Linked DNA regions of Homo sapiens: all the other regions are linked to region 5. The links are contacts of gene promoters, found by promoter capture Hi-C in blood cells and fetal thymus (Javierre and others, 2016). All regions are on one chromosome and are shown on one strand. Each heading gives the region's core, a stretch centred on a gene start or on the middle of the fragment in contact. The rest is flanking DNA. Distances are from core to core; before and after follow the strand shown.

Region 1 (2,909 bases), core at 187-2,686, 540 kb after region 5:
GGGGCTTTGCAGGGGCAGGTGGGGACCAGCTCCCGGTGTAGCCACTTGGAGGATAGGGAAGGTCACCCAGGGGATGGGAACAGCACAGTGGTCCTCAGCCCAGCAGGCTCAGACCGTGGGCCAGGAGCCCCACAGCACTAACCCAGAAAAGCAGTTCACAAGGCCAGGAAACTGAGGCCCTCGCCACTAGAGGGGCAGGCTGGGCTCCCACCAGGGCTCTGGCCCCGAGCCAGCCACCCTGGGAGCAGCCAACACCCCTCTGCTGCCATTCCTGGGCGGAGCTCCAAGCATCAGCATCTCTTCTGCAGCTGCTGGTCGAGGCCTTTCCTCGGGGGAGGGGACCACTGTGCACCCCACCTCCCAGCGACTGGGGTGGTCCTCAGACCCCTTAGCTCTCACCCTGCCCCAAGGCTGAGCCGGGACCACCACAACCTGAAGCCCCAAGTGGGCACAGAGGGTCTCGCTGCAATCTGTGGGTTGCCAGGTTCCATACGCTCTTCCCAGAAGGGGAGCTGAGGCCAGCCAGGCCCTGAGCTCAGGCAGGACGCAGGCAGGGTTCCTCCTGCTGACCCAGGACCACCCTGCGGGGGCCGGGGAGATACAGGCAAATCTGACCAGGACTGGCGCCTCCGGCAGATGGCTGGGGTCCTGGAGGGTCTGGGAGGGCATCCCATCCGAGGCCGGGCCCCGGATGATTGGAGCCTGATGGGCCTGGCCTGCATCTCCCCAAAGCAGAAGGTGAAAGGGCTCCTGGCAGCTGGAACCCAAGGCGGCCCGGGCCTCCCCTGCGGACCCGGCCAGGCCCCTGGAGGGGACGGTGGTTCAAGGTCATCCCGGGGTCAGGGCAGGGTCCCCGCGCTACGGCTGGCTGATGGGATGAAGGGGCAGGGGGCGGGGAGGTCATGTCCTTGCCAGGGCGTTTCTGTGCGTCCCAAGTTTTCTACCGCAGAATAACACACCTCATTTTTTAAGTGGAGAAAAGAAGAAAGGACTTCGGTGTGGTTTCTGGGCCTGGGGGGCAGGGACCGCCTGCAGGTCGGGGCGAGGGCCTCCAGGCCGCAGCATCCCCGCGCCCGGACCCTCCTGTCGCCGCCACCGCCCCTCCCCCAGCGTCCCGTCCTTCCGGAGCCACTCGCCCCCTCCCCGCTGCCCACCCCGGGCTCATGAACCCTTCGTGTCCGAACCCGGGGCCCCGCTCCGTACTCGGCCCACTCCGGGGCTGGAGCTCGGCCTCCCCAGGCAGAGGCGGCCGGGGGCGGCGGGCGCGCACCGCGCTTACCTGCAGGCGCTTGGAGAAGGGGCAGAAGAGCACCAGGTGCGCCAGGCGCCGCAGCCGCCGCATGGTGGGCTCCGGCCGGGGCTGCGCGGGCCCCGCGGCTCGCTCGGCCTCAGCCCCGGCCCGGCCCGGCCCGCAGCGGCCGCCGCTCCCTCGCCATGCGGGCCGCGCGCCCCCGGGCCCGCGTTAAAGGCGAGGGCGCGCGCCTTTCTGTCGGCCGACGGCGGCGCGGCGGGGGCGCGCGGGGGAGGGTCGCGGCGGAGGCGCGCGGGGGCGGGGCTTGGCGCGCGGCCCGCCTTCGACCCCCGGCTCGGCTGAGGAGGGGGCGGGCACCGAGGCCCCGCCCACCCGCAGACCCCGCCCCTCATGCAACGGTGCTGCGGGAGGGGCTGGGGGCGCGCGGGATGGGCCGGGAGGCGGAGCCGGGGCCGGGGGCGCGCCTGTCGGGCTCCTGGGCGTCTCGGGGGCTCTTCCCACGCTGGAGAGAGGCCCCGTGCGCTACGCAGGCTGCGGGGTTCAGGGCTCCCCACGCGCGCCCCCGGTTCGAGGCCGCAGAGCCAGGGCTGGTCCTTCCCCTGGGTCCTCAGGATGGGGTCAGACGCGCGGAGCCCTGGGCTGGCCGAGCCTGCAGCCCGCCCCGGGGTCCGACCCTTCCCTCCTGGCTGAGACCCCGCGCCTTGGCCACTCGCCGGGAGGACACTTCCTTCGCCTCCGCGTGGGGTGCTCGGGGATGAGCCGTTGCCGCCTCCATAGGCAGGTTCCGTGTGAACAGAAGCTTTCATTGCACTTCGGTAAACACCTGGGGGGGCTGAGTTGGACGGTGAGGGATGTGGGGCGCAGCCAGCAGCTGCCAAGACTCGCTCCCTCCCCGCGGCCGCCGGCGCTTCCAGCTGCTCCGCATCCCGGGCGGCTCTTGCTATCGGCAGGTTTTTACATTTTAGCCATTTCCCTGGTGGTGGCGTCTCGCTGGGGCTGTGGTTCGCGTGTTTAACACACTTTCTGCGTGTTCAGTTACCACCTGTGTATCTTCTCCAAAGTCTATTCAAGTTTTTGACCATTAATAAAAATCACGTTGTTTCTTTATTATTAAGTTTTGAGACTTATTTACATTTTGGTTTTAATTTTTAATATCTAGAATGAGACTGGGTCTCAGTGTTTTGCCCAGGCTGGTCTCGAACTCCTGGGCTCAAGGGATCATCCTGCCTTGGCCTCCCAAAGTGCTGGGATTACAGGCATGAGTCACCTGGTGCCCAGCCAAGACTTTTTTTTTTTTTTTTTTTTGAGAGGGAGTCTTGCTATGTTGCCCAGGCCGGAGTGGTCTCAAACTCCTGGCCTCAAGTGATCCACCTGCCTCAGCCTCCTAAAGTGCTGGGATTACAGGCGTGAGTCACCATGCCTGGTCCGAGACTTCTTTATATCTTCTGGATATCTGCCCATTATTACACATGTGATTTGCAAAGATTTTTCTCCCAGTCTGTGGCTTTCTTTTCATTCTCTTAACAGTTTCTTTCTTTTCTTTTCCTTTTTTTTTTTTTTTTTTTTGACGGAGTTTCACTCTTGTAGCCCAGGCTGGAGTTCAGTGGCGCGATCTCAGCTCACTGCAACCTCCGCCACCCAGGTTCAAGAGATTCTC
Region 2 (2,985 bases), core at 362-2,861, 820 kb after region 5:
TCATTTAAGAATGTTCATTCATTGAAGCCGGAGCTGTCTCTGCCACAGGAGAGCCACATGGTCGGTAGTAACCAGGGCCTCTCCAAGCCCAGCTGTGAGTCACTGCCCAGTGAGTCCCGCGCTTCCTTTAAGGTGCTGGGAGCAAAGAGAGGGTGACTGAGGCAGACCCCAACCCCTGCTCTGCACCATCTGGGCCCTCGCCGTGTTTGAACCTGGCTGAATGAGTGGAGGGCGCTGTGTTCTCAATCAGCGCCTCCGAGGAGCCGTGGGGTTCCTTCGGCATTAGTTCACGGTTTTTGAGAGAGGCCTTAGTTACTGCAGTGAATTTCTTTCCTGTTGCAAAGACGCTTCCAGCCTCACTTTACTTTCTGTGGCCTGATGAGGACCATGGGTGATTTTGTGTACCCAAAGCGCTGGGGACTGCCCACCGTGTGGCCCAGTCACTGGGAAGGAGCCCCAGAGAGCCGGCTGTCTGACATGATGGCTCAGGGTGGTCATCCAGGTTGAAAACTGACCGTGTGATGTTTGATTTGGGCTTCATTTCGTGTGTAGGAGCACGGTTAGACTCACTGTTAAGGAAGCTGGATGCACTTCTCTAAAAGGCTGCACTTTCCGTGAGCACTTTTCGTGGTACAATCCACATGACCCACTTTCTCCCCTGGGGGACGTTGGTTCAGAGGTTGGTAGCACTTGGGGAGAGTATCTTAACACAGTTTCTTGACAGCAGCTCTGGAACTTAGTATTTCTGCCCCGAGTTTTGCCACACTGAGACTTTGAGTAGCTCCTGGTGGACTCAACCCTGTTCAACTCAGAGACGGGCCTCCTCTCACTGATGCAAAGCTTTAAGGCTTCTCTGACTGTTCTGAAACTCTTCGTATTCTTGTCAAGTCTAAAGAGACTGAAGAAAAGATTTAAATACTAATAAAAATCAGTAGATAATTTCTGTAGGTTCTGCTGGAGGAATACAAACTGTTTGGTGTTTTAAATTTAAGTGTAGAAATTGTAGAATGTGGAATTAGCACAGATCCTTCCTGGCTTTCTGTTTCACTTGATCATTTAGCCCAGACCACCCAGGATGTTTTCCAAAATGTTCCACAGGCGTGTCCCGCTGGATCCATTTGTCCTTGTCACTTGGAGAAAGGCCAGTCCCTGTGACGGGGCAGCCCTCTCTGTCCCTCGGTCAGCTCGTGTGAATCCTGGGACCTCTTCCGGTCGGCTCTGCCCGCTGTTCTGGGGTCGACTGCCACGACTTTTGATTCAAGAAGCTTCCTCCAGGCGGGAGCGGCTATTTTTCCTAAATGAGAATTGTTACATTGCAAATTGTTGAATAAAATATTTTGCGCTCCTTCAAGCACCTTCACCTGTGGTTCCCTTTGGTTTGCTGGAAGCGAGTGAGTGCAGGTGTCCGCAGGCCTCGGCGCTGTCCTGGACCGCACCCAGGTCCTCTCCGGGGACCTGCACCTGCCTCGCTGGGACCTGCCGGACTGCGGGGCTGCCGGGTTGGGAGGGGCGTGGGAGACCCGTCCGGGTCCGGTGCGGCGCAGTCCTCCGGCCGCCAGGGGCCGCTGTGGGCGGGGCCGGGGCGCGGGGCGGGGACCGGGCGCGGCCCCGCGGCGGCGGTTGCTGGGTCCCGGCCGGGCTGACTCCGCTTCTGGGCGGCCGGGCCTCCGCGAGTACCGGGTCGACTTCGGAGTCTGCGAGCCCAGCCAGGGGTGCCCGCTTCCCACCCCTCTCCCCGAGCGGCGTCCCCGTCGGGGTCGAACCTCCCCCGCGACAGGCGCCCAGCCGCCTGTTCCCCCAGGCCTTGCCTGCGGACCGCCCTGGGAACGGCGTCTGGGAGCCCCGAGGGGCTGGCGGGACTCGGGGCCCGGGCCATGCGGCAGCCGCCCCCGCCCCTCCGCGACCATCCCCGGCCCAAGCGGGAGCCGCAGCGGCGTTTCTGCTCCTCGCTGCGCCGGCGACCCCGGACCCGGCACCCGTGACCCCTCGCGCTGCCTGCGGCCTCGCGCCGAGGCCTGCCCCGGGAGAGACCGTCCATGCCGTCCAAGGCGGAGAATCTGCGGCCCTCCGAGCCGGCCCCGCAGCCGCCGGAAGGGAGGACGCTCCAAGGACAGCTTCCCGGCGCTCCGCCGGCCCAGCGCGCGGGGTCCCCACCCGATGCTCCGGGCTCCGAGAGCCCCGCGCTTGCCTGCAGCACTCCGGCCACGCCCAGCGGCGAGGACCCGCCAGCCCGAGCAGCACCCATCGCCCCGCGGCCCCCCGCCAGGCCTCGACTGGAGCGAGCCCTGTCCCTGGACGACAAGGGCTGGAGGAGGAGGCGTTTTCGAGGCAGCCAGGAGGACCTGGAAGCCCGGAATGGGACCAGTCCCTCCAGGGGCTCAGTGCAGAGCGAGGGCCCCGGGGCCCCCGCCCACAGCTGCTCCCCGCCCTGCCTGAGCACCTCCTTGCAGGAAATCCCCAAGTCCCGCGGGGTCCTGAGCAGTGAGAGAGGGAGCCCGTCCTCGGGGGGTAACCCTCTCTCTGGGGTGGCCAGCAGCTCCCCGAACCTCCCGCACAGAGACGCCGCCGTGGCGGGGAGCTCGCCCAGGCTGCCCAGCCTGCTGCCCCCGCGCCCACCGCCTGCCCTGAGCCTGGACATCGCCTCCGACTCCCTGAGGACAGCAAACAAGGTCGACTCGGATCTTGCAGACTACAAGCTCCGCGCGCAGCCGCTCCTGGTGCGGGCCCACAGCAGCCTGGGCCCCGGCCGGCCGCGGAGCCCCCTGGCCTGCGACGACTGTTCCCTTCGCTCGGCCAAATCCTCCTTCAGCCTCCTGGCGCCCATCCGCAGCAAGGACGTCCGCAGCAGGTAGGGAGGGCCTGGCGGGTGCAGCGCCCGCGCCGCCTTCGTTGTAGTGTTCAGGCTGCTGGAACCTCGTGAGACCGTTCCCATCAGCAGCGTTTAAGATGCCTAACCGGAAAGAACGAAGCGGGTCTCCCGCAGCC
Region 3 (2,824 bases), core at 72-2,571, 570 kb after region 5:
CACCTCTCAGCCTCTCAGAGGCACAGCAGTGCAGCTCTCAGACCTCCCGGCTGCGGGGTGTGCAGTTCCGGCTCCAAGCGTGGAAAGAGGTCAAGCCAGGCCCTCCAAGCTGATTCCAGATGAAGCCCATATGGATCTGGAAGGAGACTGGGCTGGAAAATGCTCTCCTGGGTTTCGCTGTAAGATGCCTACAGGCCTAAGGCAAAAGGATGTGTCTCCACTTTCAAGAAAAGCTGGGACCGCCTGGGCAGGGGCTGCTGAGCCCAGGCAGCGAGACCCCACGTCCTTCAGGACCGCAGTTCCCCATTCATTTGAAGAGCAGTTTCTGTATTTGTCATTCTCTCAGTACAGTTTGGGGGGTGGTTACAATGTTCAGGGAAATGTTTTAACAGCTCAACTCTGCATCTGAAAAAAGAGGGGCCGTGCTCCCCTGCTGACCCGTTAGAGCGCAGGGCGGCCAGCACTCCCGCAACTGCAGCAAACCCAAGAGTCCCTATGAGGAGGGACCCCAGGAAACTGCTTTTCAATCTCCATCTGCTCCCTGAGGTGGGACGCCGGGTGGGGGCCGGGCCAGGTGACTGCTGCCCTTGTCCCAGCTGCACCTTGCCCTGCCACGCTGGCCGTGCTGCCAAGCGGATGTGAACGCCGCCACCTGACACCCACCTCGCCTGCCCCCGGAGCGTCCCTGGTGACAAGGCTACTTCTGGCACCCAGGGTGGGGCAACCCAGCCCCGCCCAGACACACGCCCCAGTTGGCCTGCGCGCCCCCACGAGTCTCCCCGCAGGGGACCGAGAACACCCTAAGAGCCAGGCTTTCTGCCAGGTGGCCACTGGTCACTCGGGGGCGGTTCCGGCGGCCCTTTGCGTGGCCACCGGCCTGGCACGGGCGCATCCCCGCTGGTTTTACGCCCTTGGGGAGCTGTGGTTCTGCGCGCGGGAGCCTGTGGCTGCCCCGGCAGCGGGGGGAGGGGGCACCGGGCGGGGCAGGAGGCCCAGACCATGGGGGGCAGCGCCAGAGCCCGAGCCACCGGCAAGCCATGATGGGGGGGTCCCCTGGGACCGGGAGGGTGGGAGCAGAGCGCCAGAGCCTCGGTAACCTGGCAGAAGGCTGTGGGGAGGGAGCGTGGAGGGGAGGTCCGGGCCGGGTGACCCAGGGCGGGAAGGGGGGGCCGTGTCGGGGCGGGGTTGGGGACAGTGGCGGGGCGGGGCCTGGTGAGGGGACCGTGTCGGGGCGTTGTTGGGGACAGTGTCGGGGCGGGGCGCCGCACCTAGCCCTTCCCTGCCGCGCGCTCCTCCCCCACGCCGCGCCCCGCCCCGCCCAGCCCCGCCGCCCTCGCAATAAGGGGCCTGAGCGCGCGGGGGAGAAGCGGGAGCGGGAGCGGGAGCGAGCTGGCGGCGCCGTCGGGCGCCGGGCCGGGCCATGGAGCTGTGGCCGTGTCTGGCCGCGGCGCTGCTGTTGCTGCTGCTGCTGGTGCAGCTGAGCCGCGCGGCCGAGTTCTACGCCAAGGTCGCCCTGTACTGCGCGCTGTGCTTCACGGTGTCCGCCGTGGCCTCGCTCGTCTGCCTGCTGCGCCACGGCGGCCGGACGGTGGAGAACATGAGGCAAGGCCGGGGGCCGCCGGGAGGGGCCGGGGAACCGCCGCGCCGCTTCCGCTTCCCTAACTTTCTTCTGGGCTTCCCTCCTTCCTGCCCCGCCCGTCCCGCCCCGCTCCGGGGCTCCGGGGAGAGCGCGCCTGGGCCGGCGGCAGGCACAGGAGGGGGTCCCGGAGTCAGGGGGTCCCGGAGTCACGGGGTCAAGGAGCCGGCGTCACAGTGCCCAGCACCCCACCCCCCGCCCTGGCCCCGGGCGTCTACACCGGTTTCGGCCTCCGCCGCGTCCCTGCAGCCCGGCGTGGGGTTCCGGGGGTGGAGCAGCTTTCGGAGAGAAAGGGGGCCGGTCCGCGCTGGGAGAGGCTCAGCCCTGCTTCCTGAGCGGGGAAACCGAGGCCGGGGCGGCGGGGACTTGCCCCAGGGCTATTGATCAGGGCGCACGACGGCGTGGGGGCACCCCTCGGCCTCCCTCCGACCCCCTCCTGACTGTCCGCCCGGTGATGGGCGCACCTGTGGGGCGGGTTCCCCTTTCTCTCCCTTTCCTCTTCGCAGGGAGGTGGGGGACCCGGAGGGGACCTGCTTCCGTGCTGGGGAGCGCGCCCCTGGCCTACAGCTCCGGGGGCCCAGCTTCCAAGCGAAGGGAAGGAAGAGTTAGGACTAGGGTTCGGCGGGGCTGAAATTTTCCCCTGGACGCCTTCCAGAAGGTGGGAGCTTGGTTTTGCCAGGCTGGGGTTGGGGGCCAGAGGTCAGACTGGGCTGCCAAAGACGGCGGGGGCTGCCTGCTCCTGGGCGGGGTGGCTGCTGGAGAAGGCTCTTGCCTGCCCCCTCTCCCTGTTAGCCGTCCCCAGGCTGTTGCTACATTTCTCCCTGCCCTGTTTGGACTGCCCAGCCAGTGGCTTTTGCAATGGCCTGGGGTGGGGGCATTGTGGCCCCAGAGGCCCCCTTCCCCGTGGTTCCAGGGGCAGTGGGTGAGGGTTTGCTAGCTCCCTGCACTCGCTGTCCTTGCCAGCCCTGGGAGGGCACTGAGGCTGCTGGAACGGGCCTACAGTCATGGCTTCCAACGGAGCCCCAGAAGCTCCAGGAATATGAAGGAGGACCCTGGGCCTGATGGTGAGCATGGAGAGTCCGAGAAGGGCCTGCTGGCTGCTCAGCCAGACGTGTGTGACCAGTGGTGATGTGGGCCAGGTGGCCCAGGCCGGGGTCCCGGGGAGCGCACACTCCAGGGCTGGCCCAG
Region 4 (2,928 bases), core at 272-2,771, 880 kb after region 5:
GCCTTTATTGGCATAAGACTAGCCCCCATCTTCTCCGTCTGTCCCCTAGCTCCCTTTCCTTTGTCTCTGTGGCAGCAGCGCCCCCAGGCCCTTGGCTATCTGGGCTTCGATCCTTCACTGGAGCCACTGTGGGGCCTCAGCCCTGGGCACCTGGCAGACGGGACGGTCCCATGGCCGACCTCACTCCTGAGTATGTGTTGCTGTGCCTGGTTCTCTAGTCTGGTGCCTAGTCTGGGGGCCACTCTGATCTGTGGGTTATTTAGCGGTATATTATTTAATTTCCAAATATTTAGAGATTTTGCCGATATCTGTTACCGATTTTTAGCTTCCGATATGGTTAGAGAACATGGTATGTGTGTTCACTCCTAAGGACACACACCACAGGGAAGTCACTAAGGTCCGCGTTTTAAACGCTGGGGAAACACTGGGTCATGAGGGCCTGGTGCCAGCTCCGGTTCGCTCCCTGGCAGGGCCCAGGATGGCCCCGGCCTGCACACTCGCTCATGTTGATGGTGAGGGGTCCAGCAGGGGCACGGCCCCCTGGAATGTGGCATTCCCGAGAGCCCAGGAGGACCCCTAACTGTCCGCTCCTTAATGTGTGATGTCAGACGTTGTCCGCACAGAGGCCTGAGGGCTGGAGGCTGAGAACGGTTAGGCAAGCTCCACACCAGCTTCCTTGCCTTCCAGCCTGGCGGCCCCTTCTCGAACCTGTTGGGTGGCAACTCAGTTCAACCAGCTTTACCGGGTGAGGCGGGGCCTGGGGGTTCCCAAGCCTGCAGGGATGAGGCTCTGGCAGCCCACACGCTGAAGTGCACAGTTCAGGGCAGACTCTGCTGTCCGTTGTCCCTGGATGGGGGCCGAGCTGTGCCCTGCTGTCACCGGCTCTTCTGAAGCTGGTTTGGGGGACCCCGAGAGTGGCCTCAGTCCTCACATGCATCCTGGTGGAGAGCAGGGATGCCTCATGATGGGGATAACGAGGATAACGACACTTCTGGAAGGGACGTTTCTCCCCCGTGTGCAGCTGGGTGGTGGCCGATGCCATGGCCCCTGGCAGGCTGCTGTGGCCTCCTGGGCTCCATAAGGTGGGCTGCAGCCCTTCTGTGACCAAGGCGTGTGCTGGCCATGCCGTGTGGCTGTGTGCCCCCCTGCACATGCCCTGCCCCGCTGTCCTGAGATGCTGGCGAGGGCGAGGGTGTTCGCACAGAGCAAAGCATGCCTTACTGAAGAAGTCTCCAGAAGCCTGTGACCAGGTCAAAGTGGCTGGGTGCGGGCTGGCCTTGTCCAGCCCCCTGGGGGTCTCTGCTGTCTCTTCTACTTGCCAGGTGCCAGGGCTGGGCCTCTGGGGCATCCCCAGGACCCCCAGCCCCCGGCCAGGCTGGGAGGGCTGGGAGCAGCTTTCCTCTGGAGGGCAGCGGACTTCCACTTCCGTCTGCCTCTTGGGGCCTCCTGGGCTGGGCGAATCAGAAAGCAGGTCACCAGGGACTGTCCCCCTGTGGGAGGACTGGCGGGACTGTGGAGTTAAGCAGAACCCATCAGGAAGTGCACAGGCGTCCGGCGTGCTCCTCCCTCCCTGCAGCCCCGGGCAGCATCTCCCAGAGGCTCCGCGGCCCAGGCTCCTGGTGTGTCTGCAGTGCAGGTGGCTCCTGGAAGACCCTCAGGTGGGTGGGTCTGGTGCTTTCTGAAAGGTGGCCAGGAAGGTTGGCGTTGGCCTAGTTCAGGATCCTGGCACTGATCCCCCAGAGCAGCCTGAGGCTTCCCACAGGCAGCCAGGCAGCCTCCGCCATGCGGCCCCGTCCCTTTCACGGCCCCTGGGCGGAGATGTGTTCATTTCAGTGGAATTACGGTGGCAGATGGGACCCTGCATTTCAAGCTGGGGAAGCAGGAAAGGGGCCCAGTGTTCCCAGGACTGTCTACCGTGTGGCCAGTGTTTTTATTCAGTCCCTTGTCTGTCAAAACTGTCCTGAATGGGGTGACAAAGTGCAGCGGGAAGTTGAGAAATGCCTCAAAAGACCAAGCCTGGGGCAACTATGTCTCCAGGAGCAGTGACCCAGCTCCTCTGGGCTGGAAACCAGCGTTTCCCAGCGGGGCTGGAGGCTGTCTGAGGACCACGTGGCTGCTCCCAGCCTTGCCGCAGTCCCAGTCTCAGAGGGAGTGGCTTTCAGCGGCTGAGGCCCCCACCATGCTGGCAGAAAGGGACAGCAGTGGCTGGTCCCAACATGGGTAGTTCTGTTGCAGCCACTGGGATGGGGGCCGGGCCTCATCTGGGGCAGGAGAAGAGTCCAGGGATTCACTGGTGCCCGGCACCTCAACCTGGAGAAAACACCGCAGCAGCACTCCTGGCCAGCCAAGGGCAACACTGACAGCCCCTCCCAGGGTTGCGGGGCCGGCAGGGGGTGACAGAGACACGCTCCTGTGGGCAGCTCTTCCCGGCCAGTGCAGCGACCCCGCAGCTGCAGCAGGGCTGGGTGGCCACTCTTGCATCATCAGCAGCCGGCCGTGGAGGAGGGAGGGCACAGCCAGGGATGTGAGCAGGCGTCGGTCAGGGGAATGAGGAAGTCCCACAAGAACCGGCTCCCCCAGCTGCTGTGCTGGTGGGAGGGCCACTGGCCAACCTGCTCTCACCCAGCTTGGGCTGGCCATAGTGCCAGGCAGTTGCCCTCAGCTCCTCTGCCCATTCCAGCCATGGAGGTGGCTAACCTTGCAGGCTCCAGGGCGTGATGGGAGTGTCCAGGAGGCAGAGGCCAGAGGGGGTCATGCTGTAGGGGGAGTTCCTCTCTCAGACCCCATCTGTGCCTCCCCCGCTGCGTATCTGGGTGACATGGATGCCAACGGGCAGGAGCAAGGGCTGGGAAAGGCTGCGGAGGGGCCCTCGGCTGGTCTGGTGGGGAGCGGGGTCACTGTGTCTCTGCTGCCTCCCTGGGGGATCCA
Region 5 (2,878 bases), core at 243-2,742:
TGACACCACAGGCTGCCTGTGAGTGGCACCTGTGTCCCTGGGTCTCCTTCAAGACAAGCCAAGAGGCCTCAGCCCCGCAGAGACCACCTCGAGCTAAGCTCCACCCCACAGGGCACCTATGACTGGTTCCCCGGCCCCAGCATGTCAGACAGACATGCTAAATACCAACAGCTCTTTCCCAGGAGGGGCCCCACACCCTAACTCCAGTGCTAAGGTTCGGTCTCCACGCGGCTCATGTGGGAGAAGTCAGCACAGAGCTCACCATGGACAGCACTTGGGCAGGCAGCACAGGAAGCTCCCGGAGCTAGGCGGCCACCGGAACTTCCACTAACCAAGGGCATGAGAGTGGGCGGACGGTCCACGCCATCAGGGTTAGGGTTAGGGCCCTACCTTGGGCAGGTGCTTCATGACGCACATCACCACGGGCTGCAGGGACGGCATCTTCACCAGAGAAAAGCTCTTCTCCAGAAGGTCTTCCAGCTTCTTGTACCTGGAACAACTCACAGGATTGATGGTGCAGCGATGCGCCAAATCGCAGCAGCTACCTGCCTGTCCCTACACAGATAACAGCTACCAGGACAAGCCTCCACGCCCAGGACACATGGGTCAAGGGGTCACTCAGACACAGGCCCAGGCCACCTCTGGGAGCAAGGATGTGGAGCCAAAAGGACAATAAATGCCCCTGAGTCGATCCAAGGCTGAGAGGCCGGCTGCACATCTCACCTGCCCACCCCTCCCGCTGACCCACCTTTCCTCAGCCTTCCCCTCCGAAGCGATGGCTGACACTCGCTCCAGCAGCTTGTCCCGCAGCTCATCGAATACCGACTGGTGGAACTCCAGCCGCGGCGTCCCGTGCAGGTCCAAGAAGGGGAGGGCTGACTGAAGAGATGGCAGCAGCACACCATTCTCTGTCTGAGGAAGCCAAGAGAAACCTCAAACGCAGCCCAGTGCGCCCGGGCACCCCGAGGTCCTGAGAGCACAGGGAGGCACGCACCCAGGTGTTCCCAGCCGTGCTGGCGGTAACCGCAGCCACCGAAAGCCACCCAGCCGTCCAGCAAAGGGGTGCTGGCTCCGGACTCCACCCCCAGAACAGGACTCAGCCACCAGCAGAAAGCCGGAAAACTTCCGGCGCCTCCGCCAGGCCCGACTCCCGAGCAGGCGGCCCGGCCCTCCAACTGGGCTCCCCCCGCCCCGGGGGCCGCCCCACCTGGAACTGCTCGATGGCCTTGAGCGGCTCCGTGCAGTTGGTCAGGGTCTCCTTCAGGTCCTCGCCGTTGGCCACGCCCAGGTCCTGCAGCCCCGCGAACATGGCCGAGGCCCCGGCCACCGCCCGGCTAGGCGCCCCATCCCCAGCCCGTTCCCCCGGCGCCGCCGCAGACACCCCAGAAGCCCGCTCCGCCGGGCCTCGGGGACCGCCCGAGCCCCGCTCCCCGGCGCCCTCCAGCTCGGCCAGGTCCCGCCCGCCGCGCGACTCCGCGCGCGTCCCGCAGCCGCCCACTTCCGCCCCGCACCGCCCAGGTCCGCCCGCCAACCGGCCCCCGGGAAACGCCGCCGGGGCCGCGCGCAGGTTCCTGGGAGCAGCGCCCTCACCCGGCGCGAGAGACCCCGCCCAGCCAGCCCAGCGCGCATGCGCCCACCCGGTCCCGCCCGCGCCCGGGCTTTCTGGCAGAAGAGGGCGGGTGAGGGCGTGGGGGGCGGACTCAGGGTCCGTCTGCTCCGGGAACGGACGTCGTCGCAGCCGAGTGAATTTCGTGTACATAAGCGTGGAAAACGCTCTTGCAGATCTCGCGGCAGCCACGCGCAGCGGGGACGTTTTGCCGGGGGTTGAGCTCCCCGCCCCTCTGCCCCGCAGGGGCCGGACACAGGCGCAGACTCCCTCCTGAGCGTGGGTTCCTCCGCGTGAAACGGGCACGAAGCCCACCCCGGCGCTGTCGCCAAAACTGAGATCTGAGCGCCTTCAGGGGGCCGGGGCCTGGCGGAGACCGGGCCCGCAGCGGGAGCGCGAGCGACGGCCGCCCTCCCAGGCACCGGGAGGCTGTGGCGCCCACCGAGCTCCGCGGAGCCGTGAAGGAGAGTCCAGGTTCCACAGTGTCCCTTCTTATCCCAGGCGGGTGGGCTCCCCGGGCCTCCCCGCCTCTCCAGCCCGCCGCCCTCCCGCAGGCTGTGCCGCGCCAAGCCCCCTACACACACCCTCTCTCTTTTCGGTCTCCGCTGCTGAAATTTTCTCTAGAAATTTCTTTCCCGCTGCCCAGCAAACTCTTGCTCTTCCTTGAAGGCTTCTTCCTCCACCACCTCCTCCAGGAAGCCCTCCCTCCTCAGCCCAGCTGGAGGAGATCGCTCCATCTTTCCTGCCGCTCCCACTCCTAGCTTTGGGTCTCACCAGGGGTGCCTGGTGGTGCAGCCGTGAGCAGAGCTCCTGTTCCCACAAGCCGGGCCGAGCTCCCAAGGCCATGGCTACCACAGCTCTCTTGCCGCTGGCCAAGTTGGTCAGCCCTAGGGCGAGGGTTCCAGTGCCTTGATCCAACCCCCAGCTGGTTCGGTGGCAGAGGAGGACAAGGGTCACAGCACACACACAATCCTGAGCCTGGGATTCCTCTCTGAGAAAGGGGGTGGTGCTGAGGCCACAGAAGCAGCTGCCCAGAGCCTTTTTGAAGGGGTTGAGCTCTGGGCCTGGTCTGGGTCCTGGGTCTGGGGAGGACCTGGGGAGGTGCGGGTGACGGCACCGCAGGTAAGGCTCCTGCAAGGTGGCAGCCTTGGGGCCCGACCCTGGGTAGGAGGGCAGGCCAGTGATGACAAGGGAGGCCCCAGCCAGGCGAAGTTGCAGGCAGGGGCAGTGCAGGGTCCCAGCAGGTGAAGGCCCCGGGAGTGGAGTCTGCAG
Region 6 (2,957 bases), core at 77-2,576, 840 kb after region 5:
AGCGGCCCAGTTACAACAGGCTTGAGACAACAAACCTGTGATGACCTGTTAGGTGCGGTTAGTTATGTTTTGTCTGGGTTAAAAGTGAGCATCTGCCTTTCTACAGGACTTATTTCTACAGACTTTGGAAGACAAAGCAGAGGCTGACAACAAAGGCTCAGCCACGGGACCTGGAGCAAGCTGGTTCCGTCCTTTGGGTCTTAGTTGCTATCTCTGTAAAAACAGGGCTTATTAACAGTAACTCACTCTAAGTGCAGTTTGTACACATAAAGCACTTAACAGCTCTGCCCTCCAACAGCACCACCGAAGTCTTGGATAAAAGCCATATCCCTTATTAACCTGGTCCGAAGGCGGGGTGTGACTTGGCCTCTGTCTCCCTCTCCAAACTCATCTCTTGAACCCCCACACTCCCATAGGTCCTGGTCACACTGATTCTTGTCAATTCCTGGAACACATTTGACTCATCAACCCCAAAGCTTCTTCACCGTTCCAGGGCTTGCCCTTTGCCCATGCCTACCCCTTCTTTCATTCTTCAGCTCTTCCCTTAAATGTCACCCTGATGGAGGACTATCCCTCACCAGTCTAGTCTTTCCTGCTATTTTCTATCATGAAAGGCTGCTTGTTTACTCCAAAGCATTTACGCGACTGCCGATATTTTGTTTACGCTCCAGCCTGTATCCATCTCCTGGAGGCAGCACCTCCGCACCCCTGAAACGGCGCTCGTTGTGTGGGGAGGGGCGACGCCTGTGCTGTCGGAACAAAGTTCCAGCGTGGGGAAAGGCAGGCCCGGTCACTTGGGTGGGAGGAGCGGTGGGTACGGAAAGGGTTCTTAAACGTCAGAGATCAACGGACAGACCGCAGCAACCGAGAGCCTGGACCCTGGTGTCAGAACCCTGCGGGTCTAACAGAGCTGGGCCCCCACCGGCTCAGCCTCCTGAAGGAGCACGCGGTAGGTGAAGCGCGGGGGCAAATATGAGGCATGGCCTCGGAGAAGGCCCGTCGACCCGGGAAGTGAGGGGGGGAGAGGACCCAGCAGCCGGGGAGAGGAGAGACAGATGGGACTGCGTCCCCGGGCTCGAGGCGCAAAGCAAGGCAGGGCCCCCGTCGCCTCGGGGACACCAGTGTCCCGAAGTGCGAGCCCGTCCCACGGGCGCCATGTCACCTGTAGAAACCGAAGACGGAGCGTCCAGAAAGACTCGAGCCGCCCCCGCCCCAGGCCGAAGCCTGGTTCGCCTTTGGCTCACCTCAGCCGCGAACAGCCCCAAGAACCCGAGCCCCGCAGCAACCGCGTCGCCGCCAGCACCACAGCCGCCATCTTGCGTCTCCGCCCCGCTTCAGTCGTCACTTCCGCTTCCGCCCACGGCTTCCCCTCCCCCTCGCCGACGGCCCAAGGCGTTCAGGCACGCGCTTTCGGTGCTCGGAGCGGAAGCAGCGGCGAGAGGCTCGGAGGCGCGGGGGCGGCCGAGCGGCGGGCGACGGGGGCGGGCGACGGGGGCGGGCGACGCGGGCCGCGGCACGGGCGGAGCCGGGGCCATGGAGCCGCCGCTGCCGGGCTAGGCAGGTCGTGCCCCGCCGGGCCGGCGGCGATGTCGGGCTACCAGCGCCGCCCGGGCGCCACCCCGCTGTCCCGAGCCCGGAGCCTCGCCATTCCCGACGGTGAGCGGGGCAGGGGCCGAGTCCAGCGGTCCAGGTGGGCGGCGGCCGCCCCGGCACGCAGTAAAGTCGCTGTTGTCGTTGCTTCCAGCTCCAGCGTTCTATGAGCGCCGGTCTTGTCTCCCCCAGCTAAATTGTGAGCGCCCCCATGGCAGGGACCTGGACTCCCCCTTCTTCGGCATTCGGCCGGCCTTTATGTGCTATGTGCCCAGCCCGGTGCTGGCTTCCGTGGGAGACACAGGTGAGAGACGAGGGCGCCGGCCCCGGGGACGCTTCCAGTTCCCGCGCCACGTGTGGCACCTCCGCTGCAGCACGAGCTCGTCCATTGACCCATCAATGTGCAGAGCGCTCACTGCGTGCCAGGCACTCGGAATTCAAAGGCGGAGTCCCCTGCTAGGAGCTCACAGTCTGGTTGCGGGGAGACCTCCCCCAAGACAGACAGTTCCAGTACAGGATGGTTAGTGCCCGGGGAGCACAGGAGCCCGCCCGCTTTCCTCGTGGGGCTGGAGTCGGGGTGCCTTCACCTAGTGGGCAGTGATTGGAAACCGAGCTGGAGCATTCCATCTGCCTCCACAGCCGGGCAGTGGCCAGATCTGGTTCGTCCTCGTTCTACCCAAGCAGAAGTGCTGCTGGGTGCCCGGGGTGTGCAGGAGTGTTTGTGTGGTTATGCCAGGATCTGAGGACATTCGGGGGTTGTCACAAGACAAGAGGACGCGCTTGCCCCGGCTGGGCTTCAAAATCTGCTGAGGAGCCGCTTTCAGACCACGGACACCAGGGCCAGTCTGCAAGTCAGGCCATCTCCAGGGTCACAAGTCTGGGAGCTTGTGTTTTTTTTAAAGTTTTCTCGGCTGACCGGGCGCAGTGGCTTACGCCTGTAATCCCAGCACTTTGGGAGGCCGAGGCAGGCGGATCATGAGGTCAGGAGATTGAGACCATCCTGGCTAACAGGGTGAAAACCCGTCTCTACAAAAAATACAAAAAAATTAGCCGGGCGTGGTGGCAGGTGCCTGTAGTCCCAGCTACTCGGGAGGATGAGGCAGGAGAATGGCGTGAACCCAGGAGGCGGAGCTTGCAGGGAGCCGAGATCGCACCACTGCACTCCAGCTTGGGCGACAGAGCAAGACTCCGTCTCAAAAAAAAAAAAAAAGTTCTCTAGACTGTGAGAACCACTGCAGTGGAGACTCCATGTGCAAAAGAAAAAAACCAAATGTGAGGTCATAAAGACTTCCTGCCAGCATGGTGGGTGACATTGTTTCTTTGCAGATTTTGGCTATGGAAAGGGGAAATGTTCTAAGCAGAGCCCG
Region 7 (2,970 bases), core at 86-2,585, 770 kb after region 5:
GGGGCTGGGGCTGGGCCCTACCACGTGCTCCCTAACTCTGTTCAAACAGGTCAGGAATCTGACTCCTGAAAGGCAAATGTTAGCTGAGCAGATTGGCCCTGGTGCCACGTCAGCCGGACTGAAGCTCTCCCTGCACCGCCTGCGGCCCTGCTGGCGTGGCACGGATATCACCCCCTCCCTCACCAGCCGCCGGCCCAGCTGGGGACAAGGGTGGCTCCCACCCAGGGAGGACCTCAGCCGCTGCTGGGAGCTCAGCCTCCCGCGATGCCATCGGGCGGGCACCCCCACCACGGCGCCTGCCCTCTGGAAGGAGCAGCAGAGGAAGGCCGCGGCTCTTCCCTGCCCTTGCCAGGCAGGTGTGCAGGTGAGTGGGCCCGGCATGGCTGGCCGCTTCCTCAACCGCTCAGCCTCCCTCGGCTCCTCCGAAAAATGAGGGCACAGAGGATAGTGCCCACCTGTTCCCTGCGATCTTCCGCGGGAGGGCGTGGATGCTGCCTGGCCTGGCCGTGGCAGGCACAGGAGCGCCTACCCGCCTCACCCCTCCGCTGGGTCGCTCTGGCCGCCCGAGCGCCCGGGCCCACTCGCCACCGACGTGCACTCAGCCAAGGCTGGGACCCCAGCGCCCCTGTGGGGCTGGCGGCCGGGGGAACGAACCGAGTAGGCCGCACCTCCCCGGGAGGACAGCAGGGCTGGGGCCAGGGTGGGCCTGGGAGGGCCCGGCGCAGCAAAGGCGCAGGGCGGAGCTTGGGGACGAGGAGCCCGCGCGTCCCCCTTGCGAGTCGGCGGACACCCGGCTCCGCGCGGTGGCCGGGCCGCCCCTCCCTGCCCGGGCCTCTGTGCAGAGCGAAGGGACAGTAGAGGATGCGTCGGGGAAACCCCAGGACGCTGGCCAGGGACTGGCGGCAGCCATCGACCAACTTCCGGCGCCGCTCGGTGCCCGCGGCCACGCCGTAACCAGGCAACCAGCGCGCAGGCGCAGTCGGCCCTCCGCGTCCCGCAGCTCCGGCCGCTCCCGGCGCATGCGCGGCCGCCGCCGCCTGCCCTCCAGCCTCCCAGCCCAACGGAAGAATGCGAGGAGCGCGCCCGCGTCAGGGCCCCGCGCTTCTCAGCTGGGCGGAGTAGCCGTTCTCGGTGCGTGAGCCTGCTGGCATCGGTCCTGCAGACTGATTTCCCGCTTGTGGCCTTGATTGAAGAATCCCATCTCTTCTCACATCTTAAAACGAAAAAAGACTGGGAGAAAGAGCCAGCGTAAACAGGGCGACGTACTGGGACGGCCCCGGCGCGCCTGGCCGGGCAGGTGGCGAGGGGCGGGGCCAAGCGGTGAGGCGGCAGACGGACGCCGGAGGGGGGCGGGGCCACGGGCGGGGAAGGACGGCCGAGGGGCGGGGCCAAAGGGGCGGGAACGACAGGATGAGGCGGAGAAAGACGGACGACGGGCGGGGCTAAGGGGGCGGGACGAAAGAATGAGGCGAGGAACGACGGAAGAGGGGCGGGGCCAAGGGGAGCGGGAACTACAGGATAAGGCGTGGAAGACGGGCGGGGGGCGGGACGAAAGAATGAGGCGGGGAAGAACGGACGCCGGCGAGGGGCGGGGGCAGAGGGGGCGGGACAGAGGGATGAGGCGGGGAGGACGGACGCCGGCGAGGGGCGGGGCCGAGGGATGGGCTGTGAAGGGCTGAAAGAGAACGCGTCTGGGCCGACGAGCCGAGGGGCGGGGCCAGGGGCGGGGCGCGCGCTGATGTCGTAAGCCGGACACGTCGGCGGCGCGGCGGCCGCGGAGACCCGAGCCGGATGTGCCAAGATGGCTGCGGCGGCTGAGGTGTCTGTGCTCGTCGCCAGCGTCGGGTGGGCTTTCGCCCGCGGCTCCTGAGGGATCGGTCTCAGCCGCGCGGGTGAGGGGGCGAGCGCGGGTGAGGGGGCGAGCGCGGGAGGAGGAAGGCGGAGGCCGGCCGGCGGAGCCAGGCCGTGGAGGTCGGGGCGCGGAGGAGAGGAGGCGGCTGGGCCCAGCCCCGAGCGGGCGGTGCATCTCGGGTCCCGCCGGGGCCGGTCGAGGGGACAGACGTCCGGGCCCCCGGGCCAGAGCGGAAGGCCGGACGCGGCGCGGGCCGCCGTGGGACTCGAGGGACTGACGTGGACCCGGCTGGGCTGCGGTGACGCCGGTTCCCGGGGCGGGAGGCTGGACCCCCAGGCACCCCTCGTAAGACTCTTAACTTTTCAAATGAGCGTGTCTTGTCCTCACCGGCTAGAAGGCTTCCTTAGCGATGCTGGTGAAGAGACACATTTACATTTGAACCAAAGAGCAGAGTTGTTTGTTTGTAATTTCTTGATTGGGCGATCAGGATGTTGCAACAGAGGCCGAGGGTTAGAGGAGTGTGTGTGATCCGGCTCGCCCCTTTGTGATGGAAGTGTTACAGTAGAGCCTTCAGAAACATCAGAGCCATTTAAAGTCAGTTTTTGCCGCTTAAGAACACTTTTAAATGGCTTGTAAGTTGGGTGTGGATTGTATATTAAGATTTTGTTTTACATGTGTGATGCCGATGTTAACCAAAGAGGTATTTCCCATCCCCCATGTGGCAATACGAAGCAAACGGAACCGCAGACGGTTCTTCCTAGAAGTGATACTTTTGCAAGTTTCAGCACAATGCAGCCTCCCTGCGTTTTTTCCTCATCCCCTTTCTTAAGTTTCAGGTGCTGGTATCTTGTAGACAAGAGGCAAAATAGCGTGTCTTTCTTGTTCCTTGTTCCTCGTTTACTGTTAATAGTGGTTACTACAGTGAGTCTCAAAATTGTACTTAAAGTTTTCTTTGAGGCAGTGGGCACTTTTTTTTTCTTTTTCTTTGTCTTTTTTTGCCAAATCCAGCAAGAGGTCATGGTAGTGGGTAAATGTTAATGTGATTTCTTCTTCTGTAAGCATCTTTCATGAATACCAGGGTCTTCGTCATTTTCATCAGTGTTAGGCTGCTGGCCTCC

Evidence for each region. Contacts are between HindIII fragments. The CHiCAGO score rates a contact against its expected background, and 5 or more counts as called.
Region 1: a contact is called between the fragment with the promoter of DIPK1B here and the fragment with the promoter of NELFB in region 5, in 1 of 17 cell types (total CD8 T cells). The highest score is 5.4, in total CD8 T cells.
Region 2: a contact is called between the fragment with the promoter of INPP5E here and the fragment with the promoter of NELFB in region 5, in 10 of 17 cell types (activated CD4 T cells, total CD8 T cells, total B cells and 7 more). The highest score is 19.5, in activated CD4 T cells.
Region 3: a contact is called between the fragment with the promoter of AGPAT2 here and the fragment with the promoter of NELFB in region 5, in 5 of 17 cell types (total CD8 T cells, total B cells, total CD4 T cells and 2 more). The highest score is 9.6, in total CD8 T cells.
Region 4: the fragment with the promoter of CARD9 here is called in contact with the fragment with the promoter of NELFB in region 5 in 1 of 17 cell types (activated CD4 T cells); the score reaches 6.6 in activated CD4 T cells.
Region 6: a contact is called between the fragment with the promoter of PMPCA here and the fragment with the promoter of NELFB in region 5, in 1 of 17 cell types (M0 macrophages). The highest score is 5.6, in M0 macrophages.
Region 7: the fragment with the promoter of C9orf163 here is called in contact with the fragment with the promoter of NELFB in region 5 in 1 of 17 cell types (non-activated CD4 T cells); the score reaches 5.6 in non-activated CD4 T cells.

Annotation. Positions count from the first base shown.
Region 1 is chr9:136,711,099-136,714,007 of GRCh38, reverse strand. DIPK1B (divergent protein kinase domain 1B) reads right to left here and starts at 1,436. Exons shown (of 5, transcript NM_152421.4): 1 at 1,280-1,436. The coding sequence starts at 1,342. RefSeq lists an enhancer at 1-773. The HindIII fragment of the contact is 2,091 bases long and covers 1-2,053 here.
Region 2 is chr9:136,438,471-136,441,455 of GRCh38, reverse strand. INPP5E (inositol polyphosphate-5-phosphatase E) reads left to right here and starts at 1,611. Exons shown (of 10, transcript NM_019892.6): 1 at 1,611-2,848. The coding sequence starts at 2,037. It overlaps SEC16A (SEC16 homolog A, endoplasmic reticulum export factor), which reads left to right. Exons shown (of 32, transcript NM_014866.2): 32 at 1-1,351. RefSeq lists silencers at 1,453-1,652, 1,703-1,882, 1,943-2,432 and enhancers at 1,505-2,138, 2,139-2,773, 2,723-2,832, 2,774-2,985. The HindIII fragment of the contact is 4,062 bases long and covers 1,268-2,985 here.
Region 3 is chr9:136,685,954-136,688,777 of GRCh38, reverse strand. It overlaps AGPAT2 (1-acylglycerol-3-phosphate O-acyltransferase 2), which reads left to right and starts at 1,321. Exons shown (of 6, transcript NM_006412.4): 1 at 1,321-1,602. The coding sequence starts at 1,421. RefSeq lists silencers at 595-674, 1,145-1,344, 1,565-2,134 and an enhancer at 1,855-2,716. The HindIII fragment of the contact is 21,227 bases long and covers 1-2,824 here.
Region 4 is chr9:136,372,262-136,375,189 of GRCh38, reverse strand. CARD9 (caspase recruitment domain family member 9) reads left to right here and starts at 1,521. Exons shown (of 13, transcript NM_052813.5): 1 at 1,521-1,658. RefSeq lists enhancers at 626-1,339, 1,359-1,653. The HindIII fragment of the contact is 14,070 bases long and covers 1-2,928 here.
Region 5 is chr9:137,253,941-137,256,818 of GRCh38, reverse strand. It overlaps NELFB (negative elongation factor complex member B), which reads right to left and starts at 1,492. Exons shown (of 13, transcript NM_015456.5): 1 at 1,208-1,492; 2 at 749-912; 3 at 391-490. The coding sequence starts at 1,453. It also overlaps a transcript of CIMIP2A not described here. RefSeq lists enhancers at 189-1,136, 1,137-2,084 and silencers at 1,095-1,154, 1,195-1,374, 1,385-1,754, 1,945-2,124. The HindIII fragment of the contact is 15,726 bases long and covers 1-2,878 here.
Region 6 is chr9:136,409,027-136,411,983 of GRCh38, reverse strand. PMPCA (peptidase, mitochondrial processing subunit alpha) reads right to left here and starts at 1,326. Exons shown (of 13, transcript NM_015160.3): 1 at 1,245-1,326. The coding sequence starts at 1,315. ENTR1 (endosome associated trafficking regulator 1) reads left to right here and starts at 1,370. Exons shown (of 10, transcript NM_001039707.2): 1 at 1,370-1,656; 2 at 1,745-1,894; 3 at 2,917-2,957. The coding sequence starts at 1,587. RefSeq lists enhancers at 1,088-1,137, 1,168-1,257, 2,108-2,267 and silencers at 1,468-1,557, 1,698-1,747. The HindIII fragment of the contact is 5,612 bases long and covers 479-2,957 here.
Region 7 is chr9:136,481,860-136,484,829 of GRCh38, reverse strand. C9orf163 (chromosome 9 putative open reading frame 163) reads right to left here and starts at 1,335. Exons shown (of 1, transcript NR_172629.1): 1 at 1-1,335. SEC16A (SEC16 homolog A, endoplasmic reticulum export factor) reads left to right here and starts at 1,790. Exons shown (of 32, transcript NM_014866.2): 1 at 1,790-1,892. RefSeq lists silencers at 678-1,107, 1,258-1,437, 1,508-1,617, 1,848-2,167 and enhancers at 407-1,151, 1,897-2,642. The HindIII fragment of the contact is 6,891 bases long and covers 1-2,970 here.